Linked DNA regions of Homo sapiens: region 2 is linked to region 1. Evidence: promoter capture Hi-C in 16 types of primary human blood cells and fetal thymus (Javierre and others, 2016). All regions are on one chromosome and are shown on one strand. The core of a region is centred on a gene start or on the middle of the fragment in contact, and the rest is flanking DNA. Distances in the headings are between cores, read along the strand shown.

The links. The method cuts DNA at HindIII sites, captures the fragments that hold promoters and counts their contacts. A CHiCAGO score of 5 or more calls a contact.
Region 2: a contact is called between a fragment that was not itself captured here and the fragment with the promoter of ENDOV in region 1, in 12 of 17 cell types (endothelial precursors, M2 macrophages, activated CD4 T cells and 9 more). The highest score is 12.8, in endothelial precursors.

What each region holds. Positions count from the first base shown.
Region 1 is chr17:80,412,469-80,417,311 of GRCh38, forward strand. It overlaps ENDOV (endonuclease V), which reads left to right and starts at 2,699. Exons shown (of 10, transcript NM_173627.5): 1 at 2,699-2,782; 2 at 3,182-3,353. The coding sequence starts at 2,727. RNF213-AS1 (RNF213 antisense RNA 1) reads right to left here and starts at 2,700. Exons shown (of 2, transcript NR_029376.1): 1 at 2,461-2,700. RefSeq lists an enhancer at 3,132-3,221. The HindIII fragment of the contact is 3,926 bases long and covers 2,143-4,843 here.
Region 2 is chr17:80,925,368-80,930,210 of GRCh38, forward strand. It overlaps RPTOR (regulatory associated protein of MTOR complex 1), which reads left to right. Exons shown (of 34, transcript NM_020761.3): 24 at 3-113. Among named protein-coding and RNA genes, the nearest start is that of CHMP6, 64 kb to the right of the region's middle. The HindIII fragment of the contact is 2,233 bases long and covers 1,885-4,117 here.

The DNA.
Region 1 (4,843 bases), core at 1,449-3,948:
GGCTCCTAGGGATACCCGACCCCCATTTACATGCTCAACCGAATCATACGGTTACAAGCTGTCTTAGAAATAATCACTAATAAGACCGGCAGAGCCTTGACTATTCTGGCCTGGCAAGAAACTCAGATGAGAAATGCTATCTATCAAAATAGATTGGCTCTCGACTACTTGCTAGCAGCTGAAGGAGAGGTCTGTAAAAAATTTAACCTTACTAATTGCTGTCTACACATAGATGATCGAGGGCAATTAGTTGAAGACACAGTTAGAAATATGACAAAACTGGCACATGTGCCCGTGCAAGTGTGGCATGGATTTGGTCCTGGGGCCATGTTTGGAAAATGGTTCCCAGCACTAAAAAGATTTAAAACTCTTATATTAGGAGTTACAATAGCAATAGAAACCTGCGTTCTGCTCCCTTGTTTGCTACCCATACTTCTTCAAATGATAAAAAGCTTCATCGCTACCTTAGTTCACCAAAATGCTTCAGCACAACTGTACTATATGAATCACTATCGATCTGTCTTGCAAGAAAACATAGGTAGTAAAAATAAAAGTGACAACTCCCACTACTGAGTGAGATTCTCAGAGAGGGAGAATAAGGGAGACCACCCCTCATATTGTTTTACGCCCAATTTCTGCCTCCAAAGAGAGAAGTAAAAACTAAAAGGCAGAAATGAAATCCACAAGCAGACAGCCTGCACCACACCCTGGGCCTGGTAGTTAAAGATCGACGCCTGACCTAATCAGTGATGCTATCTATAGATTACAGACGTTATATAGAAAAGCACCGTGAAAATCCCTGTCCTGTTCTGTTCCGTTCTAATTACGGGTGCATGCAGCCCCCAGTCACGTACCCCCTGCTTGCTCAATCAATCACGACCCTCTCACGCAGACCCCTGAAGAGTTGTGAGCCCTTAAAAGGGACAGGAATTGCTCACTCGGGGAGCTCGGTTGTTGGAGACGTGAGTCTTGCCGAAGCTCCCAGCTGAATAAAGCCCTTCTTTAACTCGGTGTCTGAGGGGTTTTGTCTGCGGCTTGTCCTGCTACACTCTGGTGGGAAAGACACCGCAGCAGGGGAGCAGGGTGCGCAGGGTGCAGTGGGTGACGCTCATTCGCTGAAAACTGACCCTGCTTTCAAAGCCTTGTCAGTTCCCAAAGCTGTATGAAGCCTTTCCTGAGCCTCAACCTCTAGAGTCTAATTTCATCCTCTGTATTTTCCCCTTTGTTAGTCCAAACTGCGTCATTTTGTAAGCCCCTTTCCATTTTGTAGACCTTGGTCAAAGTGAAACATTCCACGGGGGTTCGAGCCATGAGAAACAGCCTGCCTCTTAACATATTCTGCTGGGACAAAGCGCCAGGAACACCACATTCTGCCGGAACCACCTCATCCTGGGAACACGTTAACATCTTCCCGGACAGCAAGCCATACTGCCTAGATCCCTCCTGCCCAGGCCTATGAGTACCCCAGCCTGTAATCGCTGGTGGGCTCTGGCATTAAGCTGGCCCCCGACAGGTGTTTGCAATACACCTGTGTTGCTGTAGAGCCGCCCGCGCGCCGGCAATCTCACTGTGCGTCATTCTTTAACCTTCACCTTCCCTTCAAAACCTAACACCCTTGACGTTTATATTCAGGCTATTATATATACATACACACATACACCCTTCTGAATCCTCCCAGGAGAATATAAAACCATGGGTTAAACTGCTACACTTCAGCTTCAGTGGCTGCCTTTCAGTGCTTCAAATACACCAACCTCTTTCCCACCCCGGGACCTGCACGAGAAAGCTGCTCCACTCACCCGCCGTGCTCTTTCACTCACCCTTCAGGTGTCTTCAATATCGCCTCTCAGGCCTTTCCCAACCACCGGTTTAAAGTCGGCTCCCCACAAATAAATACATATTCTCCCTCACAGTACTTCGCACAACACCTGGCACAGCGAGAGCACTGAACCAACACTCATTCAATGAGGAACACGAGGTAAGAACCAAGACCCCCCAAGGTCGCCGTACTTTGTCTGGTAGGAGAAGCTTTCTGCCCAGCAAGGTCCGACCCAGATGAAACCCCGTCCAAGTCTGCAGCACCCCCGTGAGTCCAGCCCGCTAAACTGTGAAGAATTTAAATACACGACACCTGCCCTCAAAAGCTTGAGGGCACCCCTGAGCTGCCATCGAGGTGGGGGCGTCAACGACAGGCGCTCAGTAAGTGCTCCTGAGGCAACTGCCGGGCTGTCCTGGACCTGGTGAATCCTTTCGGGGTTCAGCAAAGGCGGACGCTGACCGGGCCAAGGAGTGGGACCTGCAGTGCTGGACCACCCTTTTCCAAGCGCAGAAGTGCCGTGCCCGCCGGCTCTCAACAGGGCAAGAGGCCCCTCTCGCCGTGCAGAGCGCAGCGCTTGCGGCGGGGACAGCAGAGGCGGGACGGGCGTCACGGAGTTCCCGGGTCCTCGCGCGGTCACTTACCTGGCCTCAGCTATCCGCTGAAAAAGGGGCGGACGGCCTCCCGGGATCCGAGCCGATATCGCGCGCGGCGCCGCGGGGCAACCTGAAGCCGTGTGCGTGCGTGTGCGTTCACGCAGGGGCTCACCCAGCGGCCACGGGCTTCTGAAGACCCGGGTGGGAAGTGCGGCCCGGGAAAGCGCAAGCGTCTCCATGGCAACGAGGGCGGACGGCGTCAGAGCGAGTCGCTTCCGGAAGTGACGTGCGGAAGGGGTGCCCGGGACGAAGCCATGGCCCTGGAGGCGGCGGGAGGGCCGCCGGAGGAAACGCTGTCACTGTGGAAACGGTAATGCTGTCAGGCGACGCGCAGGAGGCGGGGGCCGAGGCCGGGCGGCCCTTCGCGGACCCTCCGAGCTCATAGTCTTCAGGCTGTGGAATCGGAGCTGCCACCGCCCGAGACTCCAAAGCAAAGCCCAGTTTCCGGCGCGGAAGCGGAGGGATCTCAGGAATTGTAGTCCGCGGGGTGGGCGCGGTTCTCGCTTCCGGCCAGTTTGTCTGGCCTGCGCTTGCGCGGGTCTCCGCCGCCTGGGCTCCTAGGGACTGTGGCCTCGGCGGTATGTCCCTTGCTTTCCCTTGAAGCGGGAGAAGACCCGGCAGAGGCGCTCTGTCCGCTGCAGCCGCGCGGGTGGAGGAGGCAGAGTCTGAGGTGTGACCCCGACCAAGTTTGACGCTTCTGTCCTCCTAGGGAGCAAGCTCGGCTGAAGGCCCACGTCGTAGACCGGGACACCGAGGCGTGGCAGCGAGACCCCGCCTTCTCGGGTCTGCAGAGGGTCGGGGGCGTTGACGTGTCCTTCGTGAAAGGGGACAGTGTCCGCGCTTGTGCTTCCCTGGTGGTGCTCAGCTTCCCTGAGCTCGAGGTAACCTGGGAGGACGCCGAGCTCGAGGCGGGCCCCTCGGTGGGCTCGGGCGTGCGGTCTCCGGGACAGGGAGCAGTGCAAGCGTAGAACCCGGCTTCTCGTTTTGTAGGATGTCATTAATAGTCTGGGGAGTTGGCCGGGCGCGGTGGCTCACGCCTGCAATCCCAGCACTTTGGGAGGCTGAGGCGGGGGAATCACCTGAGGTCGGGAGTTCGAGACCAGCCTGACCAACATGGAGAAACCCGGTCTCTACTAAAAATACAAAATTAGACGGGTGTGGTGGCATATACCTGTAATCCCAGCTACTCGGAAGGCTGAGGCGGGAGAATCGCTTGAACCCGGGAGGCGGAGGTTGCGGTGAGCCAACATCACGCCATTGCACTCCAGCCTCGGCAACAAGAGCGAAACTCCATCTCAAAAAAAAAAAAAAAAAAAAAAAGTCTGGGGAGTCTTGGAAGGGAAAAAAAGGCAAAAATTAAGGGAATTCTGTGACTATTAAGAATCAGCTCATGAGCTTTATCTTCAAGTCTGATTGTTATCTTGGGTTCTTCATCTCAGTGACCTGTCCACCACGCTCCCAGTTGCCCAAGCTGGAGATCTGCATCCTCCTGGGCCCCTCCGTTCCTCTCGCGTCCAGTTGCACACTAGCTCGCTTTTATTCTGCCTCTTAAATGTCGCTGGAATCTGTCCCCTTGTCTGTTTCCCCTCTGCTCCTTCCCTGGCTGTGCCACCATCACTCCTGTGGGTTCCTGAGCAGCATTTTCATGGGTGCCCTGGCTCAAATGTTCCTCCTCAGTGGTTTCTTTTCCATACTGCCAGCAGACCAATTTTCCTAAAAAGCAAGTATTTTCCTCAAAAGCAACAAGTCCCCTCCCTCCCTCCCTCCCTCCCTTCCTTCCTTCCTTCCTTCCTCCCTTCCTTCCTCTCTCTGTCTCTCTTTCCTTCCTTTCCCCTTCCCCCACTCTGTGCCCAGGCTGAAGTGCAGTGGCATAATCTTGGCTCACTGTCAAGATCTGATCTCAACCTCCTGGACTCAAGTGATCCTCCCACCTTAGCCTGAGTAGCTAGGACCACAGGTGTGAGCCACTACACCCGGCTTATTTTTTTATTTTTTGTAGAGACAGGATCTCACTATGTTGCCCAGGGTGGTCTCCAGCTCCTGGGCTCAAGGGATCCTCCTACCTTGGCCTCCCCAAGTGCTGAGATTACAGGTGGGAACCACCACACCCAGCCCACAAGTCCTCTTAGAACATTGAAGTGCCCTTCTCATGACCTCATGGTGAATAAAGTTCACTCTGGTTGGCATGGCTTCAAGGCCCGTCATGACCTGTCCCCTGCGTAATTTAATATGACGCTGGAGGCTCAGCCCTCACCACTATTCTCAGTTCTTCCCACCTCCTACAGCCCACTGTGAGTCCCTCACGTGTTTGCTACGCTGTATTTGGCGGCCTGACCTTTGCAGTAATGTTTCTTCTGGAAGGGTTTCCATC
Region 2 (4,843 bases), core at 1,751-4,250, 510 kb after region 1:
AGACTGCGGACGACGCGGACGATGCTGCTGGACACAAAAGTTTCATCTCCGCCACGGTGCAGACGGGGTTCTGCGACTGGAGCGCCCGCTATTTTGCCCAGCCCGTCATGAAGGTGCGCCCGGGGTGTGGGGTTCAGAGTAGAGTCCTAGCGAACATGTGTCTGTCCCACTTCTTTGAGCATAAACGCTCAAGGCTTGTGGCTGTGGGAGCGTCCCATTGTGGTCGTGGTAGTGATGGTCACGGTTGAGGTAGAACCGCAGAAGAAACAAACTTCACTTACCTTCCTGTCGCCAAACGAAAAGAGAAAACCTGCCTCGCTGGAGCTTCCCAGTGTGACAGGTGTCACTTTGCCTTAACTGACAGGGTCACCACAGGCCTTCCCACTCCCTAATGGTGAGGATCACTCGAGGCCCATCCCAAGGCCACGCTTGCGTGGCTCCGAGGTCTGGGGACTGTTAGACGCAGCCTGCTGCAGCCAATCCTAGCGCATTTGGGGTTACACCACAAGACCATCTCTGAGGCTCAACCCTGACACAGCCCTAACAAGCGCCGTGTGCTGTGGACGCAGTGGCTGTGTTCCTGCAGGCTGGGGCAGGGCGGCGGCTCTCGGCCTCTTCGAGGAATGGGGCGGGAGCTGCTTTGTCAGCACAGTCCCAGTGCTCATCTCTCTGCCAGGGCCCAGCAGGGACTCGTGGAGATTTTCTATAAATCTAAAGTGCATTCTGAGCAAACCTGCCTCTTCCCTCATATATAATTGAAAGCTGAAACTCTCAGCTTATTCTCGATTGTATATCAAGCTTGCGTCTTAGTCATCTCTGTGAATGGTATTTGGACCCCATGACAGCTCAGTCCCTGTGGTCCTGTCTTCATAGTGAATGCTGATTTCTGTTCATAAAAACAGAACCATCAGGCAGCCCCTGAGGCAGGCAAGCCATGAAGCTTGAACTACGGAGCCCCTTTACTGCAAAGAGAGAGGAGTTCGCCTCCCTCTTCTCACATGAACCTGGGTGGACAGTGGCCTGGCTGTTCTAGAAAGCGTCTTGCCGGGAAGCATCAAACGCCTTAAATAGCCGTTCCCTTTGACCCAGTCATGAATCTGCTAAAATACTGTCTTGAGAAAATAATCAGAGATGTAGATGACTTCCGTGTTGTTTCTAAGAACGAAAATTGAGATTCACTTAAATGTCCACAGAGGGTGAATAGTTAAAAAGTTATGAAATATTTGATGAGATATTATTGGAGCTACTGAAAAGTTAAACATTAAAAATAGTGTCCTAAGGAAGCGCTCATGACAACATTCCTTAAAAAGAAAAAATGCAAAATGCAGACCAAGAAGCCAGATTTACAGAACAATCACAGCCGTGCTTCTCATACAGACACAGATGTGCATACGACGGAGACCAGCAGAGCCCGCTCCTAACTAGAGATTCGCAAATGGCGCCACCCACGACTGCACTGAATTGGGCTTCTTTTGTGCCTCTTCTGCAGTTTCTACACTAAGCACGAAGCACCTTTAGAGTCGGGGGAAAAGAATCAAAGAAACAAACCCCAGGAGATCATTGAGGCTGGTGGATTCAGTCCTAGTCAGAAGCCCCTCACCAGGCCCACCTGCTGGGCTCACCGCTGCTTACCTGCGGGTGGCATGAGGGTGGCGGCCCCTGCAGACAGAGGGAAGTGCCCCTTCCCATCACTAGGAGGCTTCTGGTTAGGAAAGGAAAGCATACACAAATCCTGGAATTGGATGCAGGAAGCAGGAGCCACCCAAACTCTGAGTGAGCCAGAGCTGGGAGGTGGCTGGACACTGTGCCAGGGGTGCCAGGCCGTCCTCTAGAACTGCGGCCCAGTCTGTTGAAAAGTCAATGGAATTTAGTCTAATGTTAACAAGCTTGGTGTCCTTGATGCGGTCTCGTGCTTAAGGCAGACAAGGTCAGGCGACTAAGAAACCCACATGGTCTGGTCTTCGCTCTTGCTGGGATGGCAGTGGCTGTACATGTTGGTAATTTCTTGGTGTGATAACGAGAGGCTTTTCTTGAAGTCCTTGAAAAATGCCTATTCTCAGTCATCTATCCTATGATGAAAGAGGAATGGCATAGATAATCCAAAACTCATTGCTCTTAAACTTAAAAATGAATTTGACTTTTCCCCAAAGGATTTGCTTTCCTTTCCTAAGCATTTTTAAGTACACAGCAGCTGATTGCAGGAGGAAGTTCCCCAGAGGCATGTGGAAGGCCGTGTGTGTGTCTGTCTGTCTGTCTGTCTGTCTGTCTCTATGTGTGTGTGTGTATCCCTGTGTCTGTCTGTGTGATGTGTGTGTGTATCTCTGTATGTGTGTATGTGTATCTCGTGTGTGTGTCTGTGTGTTTCTGTGTGTCTGTGTGTGTGTGTCTATTTGTTCCGGTGTGTGCAAGCCCCAAGCCAGCGTCTCCTCTCCCTTTCTTCAGATTAGCAGCCCCTCCTCCGCCTGCCCTCATCTCCTCCATTTGCACATCTGAGAATTCCCGCCCGCACGGAGGAGCTGGAGGGTGTCAGCCTTGTGGTCTGGCCCTGCCAGCAGGTCCTGCTGTGTGGACACTGCAGAGGAGATTAGTCCAAGGGGATCCATGTAGGAGCTGCCATCACACAGGAGGTTGATCAGGAAACGGTTGCTGAATGAGTAAATGATTGTCTTCCTCTGCCCCTGCCAAGTATTTGAAAACAAATGCTCACTTGGTTGTCGTTGAAACAACAGGCTCTGGGTGTCATGATGGAAAAGAGCGCCGTGTTGTGGTCGGCGTCGTCTGTAACTCCTGATAGCAACTGCAGTCTTAGGAGTGTCTTTAACATTAGAGACCTTTTCCAAACTTCAGAAGAGGAAGCAGGACGTGTTTTCTCTTGTTTAAAAAAAAAATTGTTTTCCTACTTTTTCTAGGTGGTATTCATAAAGGTATTCTTTTACTGATTTAATTCATCATCTAATGACATTTGTGTAACGAGCTGCATTAGGAACTTCTTGTTATTAGCCTGCTTCACATGTAAACTAAAAATAGCTCTAAGGCTAGGATTGAACCTAAAAAAGAACAGAAGAACTGCAAACCCGAAACTGCTTCAAGGTATATAAGAAACTAAAACAGTTACCAGGTCACAAAATAATGACCAGTTTACACTGACATGCAACTAGCGATTAGCAGGATGAGCATCCAAGGACACCGTGGTAAGGACAGCGTCTGCTAACGTTTTTATTAGTTCACCGTCAGATTTCGTACAGGTCCGTATGACTAGAAAGAGCCGTGTTCTGTCTGCGGCTCACCTTTGATTGGTGAAGCAACCTCCTTTCTTCCCATGTTGGTTTACGGAGCTCGTGTCTACATTAGAAACCACAAAAGAATATTAAAAATGGTCTGCCGTGTGCTTAAGAAAGAAAAAGATGTATTGAATTGTGTTCTGATTACAAAAGTCATACAACTTTTTTCTTCTCTCAGTTGGAAGGTTTCAAAAATTGATTCTATCCAGAGAATCAATCCCTACAAGGCTGTAGGGGCATGTGAACTCTCAGACACTGTTGGTGGGTGGGTCCAGTACTCCCTTTGCTTAGGGCAATTAAGCAGTAACTGTCAGGATTAGAAAAGGGTATACCTGCAAAGCCAGCAATCCTGCTAGGAGGCATATATTCTTAAAAACCACTAATATACATGTCCATGAAAGGGTTCTGCCCGGAGATGTTCATGATAACATGATTTGTAATGGGAAAAAGTTGAAAAGAATCACTTAGTAGGAGAGTTAATTTAAAATGATGGATCCATGGGTTAGAATACTATACAACCATTAAAATTCTTTAAGTTGTATCTTTCTATGAGGACTTGGTTGGATGTCCTTGATCCAAAAGGTAAAATAATCAAATTGTACAAAATGCTTGCACGAGCTCTGTGCTTCTGTAGACTGGAACAAGCACGGGAGGAGGCTTGGCCAGTTACACAGCAGGCTGGCCACACAGTGACTTCTAGAAGGTGGAGTTGGAGCCAGGCAAGGGGACTGTTCTTTTTTTCATCATTTACTTCTGGATGATTTGAATTTTTTAGAAAGAACAGTTATTAGTTTTGCAATTTAAAACAGACTAAAATACCATTTTTAATTATAAAAAGCTTTAAGAGTCGATACGCTGTTGGGAGGCATCACACGCAGAACCCAGTTTATTTCACACAGCCCTTAAAGCTACAGTGGGGATTTCCGTTTGGCGGCTCCGCAGAGCATGGGGATCTTGTTTTGCCCTGAGAGCATCTGCTCCTCTAGGGTGGATGCGGAAGCTGCACTGCCCGTCATCAGATCTGCGGCTGTGCAGCTGGGGTTTCAGTGCACCATTAGAAACTCAGGCAGTGAAGGAGCGACTTGAGATGGCCATAGTCCCCACGCAGGGTTCCCTCCCAGCACTGGGGTTGCCCTGCCTGCATGGCTTCCGGTCCCGCTTTTCTCACTATGCAGTGAACATTGAGCATCCTGTCATAGATTCTCCCACAAAAATGACTTTTTCTGTTTTGTTTTGTTTTTCTCCTCTGAGAATGACACTCTGTGTGACATTCTTTATATAAACCTGCAGCAGGCAGAGCCTGAGAAGTCCCCTCGTGCCACCCTCAGCTCAGTTCATCCTTGGCTCATCCTCGGCTCATCCTCAGCTCATCCCTGGCTCATCCCCAGCTCATCCTCAGTTCAGTTCAGCTCATCCTCATCCCCAGCTCATCCCCAGCGCATCCTCAACTCATCCCCAGCTCATCCTCAACTCATCCCCAGCTGCTCCTCAGCTCATCCCCAGCTCAGCTCATCCCCAGCTCATGCCCAGCTCATCCCCAGCTCATGCCCAGCTCATCCCCA